2 separate regions of the Homo sapiens genome follow, and region 2 is linked to region 1. The links are contacts of gene promoters, found by promoter capture Hi-C in blood cells and fetal thymus (Javierre and others, 2016). All regions are on one chromosome and are shown on one strand. The core of a region is centred on a gene start or on the middle of the fragment in contact, and the rest is flanking DNA. Distances in the headings are between cores, read along the strand shown. Region 1 holds the start of GUF1 (GTP binding elongation factor GUF1). Region 2 holds the start of CHIC2 (cysteine rich hydrophobic domain 2).

Region 1 (4,009 bases), core at 797-3,296:
TTACTCTTATGACAGCTCATCATGCTTTCTCCATTAATGGTATCTACGTTTTCTTTTAAAAAGAATTCATTTACATATAAAGGTAAGTTAAAGAAAAATATAAAGTACATAATATCGGTATGAGGATTGACAAAGATTCTTGACCAAACTCTAGCCTGACTCTTCTAAGCCCTCTTATCAGCAAAGCCTCAAACTTGCCTATAAAAACTACAGACCCTCAGCACAAATGATTTCATCCACATCCTTCCCCTACCGGTTTGCCCACACATTAAAAGACTTGAACAAACTCATATAGTTTATAACAGCTCAAGGCTGCATCTCTAAGATGAAGCCCCCTTAAATTTCTGTCTGAGAAAGCTCAAGACTGACAAAATAATTTATTTGTTCCAGCCAACATGTGAAAGTAGCACTCATTTCCTAGTGTCTGCGGGAAGGGTAGGAGCCTTATTTCCATAAGCAACAGTTTACAACCCAGATGGATTTCAAATGGACCATTCTTCCGCCATTGTTTTTTGTAAATTTCCGTTTCCCTGACTTTGATCAAGCCCAGTTGTTCTCTTTCCCTACTCCCGCATTCTCCTTTTAAAATACAGTCGCCTCTGGACAAATTGTAGTTTAGTTCATTCTGGATCTTATTCCCGATTGCATTAGTATATCACTATAATAAAAATCTGTCTTCACCACTTTAACTGGTGTCTGCCTTTATCTTTGACAGGATATGGTGAAAATTAATGAGGGTAATTGTGCAAATTATGGAAGTCTGGGCAACATTGAATATAAATTATTGTGTTTACTTCAAGATAGTTGTTAAATTCATTCTCTTACAAGTGTGACAGAATTAGTCGTCTATCAAGTACTGTTTTAATTCATAAAAGTTCCAAGAAAGGGCCAGGCGCGGTGGCTCACGCCTGTAATCGCAACACTTTGGGAGGCCGAGGTGGGCAGATCACGAGGTCAGGAGTTCGAGATCAGCGTGACCAACATGGTGAAACCCCGTCTCTACTAAAAATACAAAAATTAGCCATGATTGCTGGCGCGCGCCTGTAATCCCAGCTACTCAGGAGACTGAGGCAGGAGAATCGCTTGAGCCCAGGAGGCGGAGGTTGCAGTGAGCCGAGATAGCGCTACTGTACTCCAGCCTGGGCGACAGAGCGAGACACCATCTCAGGGGGGAAAAAAAAATCCAAGAAAGAACTGAGTCTGGTACAGAATTCTTGATCCTAAGAAATCCTCCAAATGAAGAAACTTTCAAAGGCTCTGGAAACAATACGAATGATTCTGTCTTCAGTCACAATGATGAACTGAACACAGCTGTCATCTCCCTCCTTCGCACCAAATTCTGGATATTCCAGAAAAGCGCAAGAGAAATAGTGGGAGACAAACACTGGATGCAATCCTCCTATCACCTGTTTTATCCCCCATTCTTACTTCGTCAGAGCTCATTCCATGAAGTGGTAACTTGATGACGATGGAAACATTGGGGGTCCAGCATGGAACTTTTTCCCACCTTTACTTCTTGCCAAAACCTTCCTGGATTCAGTATTGCAATCAATGTTATGGCCCGTTTCCTTTCAGATGCACTTCAAGATTAGCTCTGTCACTGACAACATGGGGAATACATTTCGACCTCCAGATTTTAAAAGTGCCATTATTATTTTGCCATTAGGTAGAAGGCTAAGTCTCAACGTTGTGCTAATAATAGCATCTTTAAGTCCCTGGACTAAGACCTCGGCTCCTGGTTCGGGAATCAGACTGCCTGGGCGGCACTCCAGGCTCCACAGCTCCCCACCTGTGAGCTCCTGGGCAAGTCACTCGGTCCGGATTTCCAGAGGTAGTTTGGGGGAACTGACAGTACACACACCACAGGGCAGTAGTAAGAAAGAGACAATGCAAAGGAATTGGCACAGCACTCAGCAGACAATATAAGCTAATATGTACTCTGTCTACACCCTGCGTTTTAGGGAGTCAATCGAAAGCCTCCACTCACGTGACCACTCCACTACCCGGCGCCAAGACGCGCTGATGTCACGACAGCGTGCGGCGTGCAGACGTCGGCAAGCTGCGCCGCCGCTTCGGGTTGCTTCCGGATCTGGTACTTGGGCAGAGCTCCCCGGGGTTCATTGTCTTCGCTTCACAGGATCTGTTTGAGTCCTGTCCACCGGATCCTACGGGGGGTACCTTCGAAAAAAAACGGGCTATGCTGCTGTTGCGTGTGGGTACCCTCTCCTGACGCCTCCGCCGCCCGGGTCATGTGGACCCTCGTGGGTCGGGGCTGGGGGTGCGCACGCGCTCTCGCGCCACGAGCCACTGGGGCCGCGCTTCTGGTGGCCCCGGGGCCCCGGTCCGCGCCGACCCTTGGGGCTGCTCCAGAGTCCTGGGCTACCGACAGGCTCTACAGCTCCGCAGAATTCAAGGTGACTGCCCCCTGGAATCTGATTTAGCCAAGTTTTCAAACGTTGGAGTGCCCCATGCGATCTTGGACATGTATAGGGCTTTCTGGGACTAGCTCTGAACCCTGCTTGCAACTTGGTACAGGGAGGCAGAGCGGAGAGTGTGAGCACTGCTCAGGTTCCCGACCCTCCACTCCTCACTAGTGTGACCTTGGGCAAGTCACTAACTTTGTAGGTTTTCTCATTTTCAATGTCAAATGTTGATTTGTTTACGCGAGCCACTGGTCGAAGTGCTTTGCGTTTATTCATCTATTTAATTCTAAAAAGCCTACTAAGCAAGTTGCTAGTAAATATTAATATAACGTCCATTTTCCTGCAAATTAAGTAGCTATGTGGCCTGGGCAAGTTACTACATTGTCACTCTCCTACTTCATTTGTTGAATGCAGAACTGATCAAACATCCAGTGGCTAATTTGTGAGATTTGTGTGATGTGAGAAGTGGACTTTTTTAGACTAATACCTAGAATGCAGGAAGTTCTCGGTCTGTCTTTGTAGTTTTATTTCATTCTACCTCAGCCAGAGCAAACCTGTGTAATTTTGACTCTGGTGGGAGAGGGTGGGAGGTTCAACAACTCTGATAATTGTGAATGGATACATTTTAGTCAGAAAAGTGAAGTGACTGAAGGCAAGCTATAAGTAGGCAGAAAGACAAAACCTTAAATTAATCAACTTTGGCCCTAATATGCCTGTGTTTTTAAAAATGGATTTATATTGCAATTCGAAGTATAAAGATGGTGCAATTCTCTATACCTTTTGAACTGAAGGGAAAGAAAATCTACAGGGCAAACATCAGAATTAGTTTTTTTTCGGCAGACTTTCAGCTATAATTGTGCTTTTATTATCTGTCTTTATGGGGCTATTAAAAAACAAAGCTCACGTGAATTTTATATTTCATTGTAATTTCATGGTTTTGCTGATTGTGAAATATGCAGTTGATTGGAAAAAAATAGAGTACAAAAAACTGGTATATTTTGCTTGATAACAATTTCTAGCAATTTGTGATGTGTTTCAGTAAAACGTTAAAGAAGATGTGTACACGAAAAACCAGGAGTTCCATTTTAAAATATTTTTAAGTTTTAAGTGATAAGTCTTTTGTTGGATGTCATCTTTTTTTCTTTCTCACCAGAGAAGCTGCAAAGTAGCAAAATTGTATTTAAAATAAAATTTTGAGGCTCCATTAGAGACACAGATTTTTAAATAAATCTGATTCCTGATTAAATGTGTGATAGGAGCAGAAAATTTATCTTCTTTCAGCTTTTCTGTAGCTCCATTGCCTCAAAAGTTTTACTAGACAAGGTATTCTCAGGCCTTTAGAAGTTCTAGGTGTCTCATGTTCTCCATTCACGATAATAAATTCAGTTCCTGATTGGCCCTAAAAATTGTGTAGAAATGTTAAGGGATTATGATTTAGCTGTATAGTTACCTTTGGCTATTAAACTGATGTTCCTTGTAATATGAACTTAGCCATACATGTCTTTTTCTTAGAATAATAATATAAACAATATAAATGCTAGAAATGATATTGTTCAACGATTAAAAGAATATTCTTTGAATTGGTA
Region 2 (4,193 bases), core at 999-3,498, 9.4 Mb after region 1:
ATTATTTTAACTGTCCACTCCTAGGACCCTCACTTAGTATTTGGCCTTCAACTGGCCTGGGGTGGAGCAAAGACAATGGTCTTTTTTTAAAGACACCCAGGATTCTAATGGACAGCTAAGTTTGAAAACCACTAATAATTATTTTCTACCCTATTAACCTCTCCACGTAGCCAACTACAATCAAGTTTACTGATTACCTAGGTTCTGAGCACTTTGCCCACTATTGCATTTTCCACTTGCCCAACAAAGTGCTTAGCTTTTCTTCTCCTTAACAGAGGAAACATTACAACTACAGCGTCGCCTTTTTAAATGACAAAATTCTCTAGCTTTTCTTTGACATGAGGAATGTAGAAGGAGGGATAGATGGCATGACAAAGTTTGGAAATCACTTCTTTAAGCATCCACATACTCCTTAGGCTTAAAACAGTGCAAAAAGGTCCTAAAAGTCAAAATAAAATCAAATGGCAGGTTATGAATTCTGTGATATATGTTAAAAGTTTAATATCCATGATATTTGGTTATACTTCTTAAGCTGGTGACAACACTTAGAAAGTATTATTGTGGTGAATTAAATTCCACTGTCTTGTCATGGTGCTGTGATGGCAATTATGCAGTGTTTTTACCCTGTTAAGTCACCTGAACATAAACTAACAGGTACTAAAGAAATTAAAGCATTACATAAGCATACTCAAACAACAATATGGCTGGTCATACGAGAAATGCAATTATTTTGCTGACAAACTTATATGAGAAGTCTTACTGTTTCCCTAAGTTATTCACAGCACATCCCACTCACTCTTCACCAAAATATAATGAAGACTATTCCAGACATTCTCAGACTTGCTGGCTCTTTTGTTTCACTGAAAAGGTGAAGAAGTACAGAGATACCTGACAAGTATGGAAGTCTGATCTATTATTTGAACAAGAGATCTAAAATGAGAGAGTATCAATGTAATACATCAAGTGGTACAAAACTGTGGACTTCATAGTGAAACATTACAAAACTTCCTGCTTCCGGACAGCTCATTATTTGGTTCAAGGCTTCACATTCCTTTGTCATGGTCTTTCCGAAAGCTTTCATTCCTTATTAATATCAGACTTTTAATGTTACTAGTGGGACTTTCCAAATTAACAAGCCCCAAGTTCGTGCCCCAAGGAGGAGCTTCAGGACTACAATTTTCCCTCAGTAACCTGAGCAGAGTGTATGTCCCTCACGTAGTTGTTGTTGTTGTTGTTGTAAACATATTTCTTTCTGTATATCTTAAATTTGTGTTCAACTATATATTTTTATCACGTACAATTACAAGAACTTGCATTAGTTCTGCGGAAATTAGTGGAAAAACTGGGAGACCTGTGGGTATGTGTGAAATAGACACGAAACGGAGCTTCGCTGCCAATTGTCACTGGGGTCTCACACGGCCCAGATCTGGCCTCTGAGCCATGTCACTGGGTGCAAAGGCACAGACAACCACAGGGTAACTGGGCGAGAAAACAAGGAGGCTCCCTGTCAATACACGTACTTCCACCCTGAAGAGGAAGGGTGGCCCGCAGGGCAGACCCTAATGAAAACCCGTGCCTACTGGGATCGTCACATCGCCCGGGCCTGTAGGGCCTGCTAAAGGGGTGTGTGGAGGAGGAAGGACAGCGTCCGTCCCCACTTCGGAGACCCAAACAAATGAAAATAAGCCAAGTTCTCACTTCCTGGTTGCCTACTCTTTCGGAAGGCCCCCGACACCAGACGGACACAGGGGAAACGGGGCTCCCGTGGAGTAACGGGGCCCACCCCAGCCCGCACCTCCCGCCCTCGCCCTCCTCCGGGCCTTACACGGTGACGTGACCGGAGCCGCGGACGACCACCGGGTCCGGCGAGTACTTGAGCAGCTGCTCCTCCAGGGCCCGCTCCTCGTCCTCCTCTTCCTCATAGATTTCGTCGAAATCCGCCATCCTGAGCCTCCGAGCTCCCCTGCCCAAAGGGCCTGACTCCCGGGGTTGGCGCCGGGGTACCGGCGGGCGAGGCGGCGGAGGCTGAGGGGAGTCGCCGCTGCCGCCGGCTCCGAGGCCGCGGAGTTCGCTGTCGGCTGTCTCGGCTCCGGCTACAGAGGGGATGGGGTCTGGACCGTCGCCGCCACCGCCGCCGCCATTACCATCAGCAATAACAACAACACAATGTCAACATCCGCCCAGAGGCCGACACCTCCACAAGCACAGACGCCGCTGCCGCCGCCGCAGCAGCAGCAACTCAGGAAACCACAGCAACAGCCCGAGCCACCCGCAGCGGGAGCAGCCGGCTACGGCATCGCGAGACTTCCCGGGCCAACGGGCGGGCGGGCGCGTGCGTGGGCGCGTGGGCGAGCGGACTGGCTGGCGGGCGGGCGGGCGCGCGCACGTGCGGCCTCGCGCGCTCCCAGGCCACCGTCTTTCCTCTGCTTCTACCCGCAGACGGCGACCGGGGCGCGCGCTCCCGCCGGCGGGCCCCCCTCCGCCGACTTCTGGGTGGCGGACCCTGGGGGCGGCGGCTCCGCTGACTGGAGGCCGCGACCCGCGACTCCGACAACGCAGCTTGGAATGTCCAGTGGGACATGCAGTTCCCCAAAGTCATCTCTAACCAAAACAAACAACTGAAAAGAAAAGCCCTGGCTGGAATAGACACATTTTTGTGCGTGTCATTGCCAGTTTATCTAATAATCGCATCTCGCTTTTCCTCAGGTTTTGAGTCTATGATGAGAACCAGAGTCTCTTTTTTCCCAATTTGAGGAGTCCAGCAGAGACACTGCAAACATTTGTGCTCACCACAGGATTTTTCAAGACATCTCCAAATTCAAACATCTTATCCCTTGATCCCCTTAAGTATAATCCAATATATGAGGCCAGCGATGCTGGTATTTTTTTTTTTTTCTTACAAGAAATCTCACCGTAGTCATGCTATGAAAAAAAACTGATAAATTACCTGGATTCCATATTAGAAGATGCAGTTTCTTGCCCCAACTCTCTCACCAAACATAACCTGGTTTTTGTTGTTGTTTCCTTAAAATCTTAGGGAATTCCTTTCCTTTTCTTACCAGTTCCTACCACAAAAAAGACCTGAAAGAAAGGGCAGAGGAGAGGAAGAAAAGGAGGCAGGAAGGAAGAAAGGATAGAAGGAAGGACGAGAAGAATGAAAGAAGAATGGGAGAGAAAGAAAGAAGGGGAGGAAGGAAGGAAAAGGTTTAATGGAGTCTACTTAGCTGCCTAGTAACAGTTGAACGGTCACTTTGGGTACTTGGTTTCATTAAGCATATAAACAGCACAGGGGAAGGAGTGGGCTTCTGAGAAGAGAGTCCTGGACAGTGAGGATACACCATGGGAGAAGAAAGGATAGTTCTACTGAGCCCAGCGCTGGTCAGGCTCTTCAAGTGCAGTGTTCATGTCACAGTAGTCGGCTTTAGATGGGTCACTGTTGACGTGGAGAAAGTGCAAAGGAGGTCAATGAGGACAGTGAGAGATGCCAACCTCCTTTTGGAAACAACTGAAGGAAATGAGTGTGGTTAGCCAAGAAAAAATGAAGGAAAAATACAGTAGTTGTATCAGACTTATTGTATCCCTCCCTGGAGGGTATTTGTTCATTCAACAAATATCTACTGAACTCTAGCTATGTGGCAGGCACTGTGGACGTGTGTGAATGAGGCACAGGCCCTGACTTCTGGTAGCTTATCTATTGTTAAGGCAAGCAATTGTCATCTCTGCCAGGGGCTCATGGAGGAGGACACAGGAAGTGTCAGTGGGGCACACAGGAGGCAGCTTGGTCTGGTGTTTAACAATGTGTGTTCTGGAACCTGACTACCTGGCCTTGAATGTCAGCTCTGCCACTTACTGTGTGACCCTAGACAAGCCACTTAACTTCCCTGTTCAGTACCTGCCCCATTGGGATGCTCAGCAGATTCAAGGGCTTAAGATCGGTGAAGTGCCTAGAAGAAGGCCCAGTACACAATAAATACGGGGTAATAGGTGATGCTTAAGGCTCCCTAGCTTATCAACCCTGTGAGGGTTACCACAGCATTATGTAATATTTTACTGCTTATAAAGCACGTACATAATATATCATTTAATATTCCCCCAAGAACCTGTGAGGTAAGCAAAGAGGGTGTATTTATTTTCAGATATGCTATGTTTCAGAGATGCTATGATATGCTATATTTCAGAGATGCTATGTGGCT

What was found. Contacts are between HindIII fragments. The CHiCAGO score rates a contact against its expected background, and 5 or more counts as called.
Region 2: the fragment with the promoter of CHIC2 here is called in contact with the fragment with the promoter of GUF1 in region 1 in 1 of 17 cell types (total CD4 T cells); the score reaches 9.4 in total CD4 T cells.

What each region holds. Positions count from the first base shown.
Region 1 is chr4:44,676,374-44,680,382 of GRCh38, forward strand. It overlaps GUF1 (GTP binding elongation factor GUF1), which reads left to right and starts at 2,047. Exons shown (of 17, transcript NM_021927.3): 1 at 2,047-2,414. The coding sequence starts at 2,250. RefSeq lists an enhancer at 1,266-2,154 and a silencer at 2,226-2,385. The HindIII fragment of the contact is 9,672 bases long and covers 1-4,009 here.
Region 2 is chr4:54,062,357-54,066,549 of GRCh38, forward strand. CHIC2 (cysteine rich hydrophobic domain 2) reads right to left here and starts at 2,249. Exons shown (of 6, transcript NM_012110.4): 1 at 1,826-2,249. The coding sequence starts at 1,944. RefSeq lists enhancers at 1,657-2,157, 4,154-4,193 and silencers at 1,957-2,086, 2,317-2,556. The HindIII fragment of the contact is 3,181 bases long and covers 1,073-4,193 here.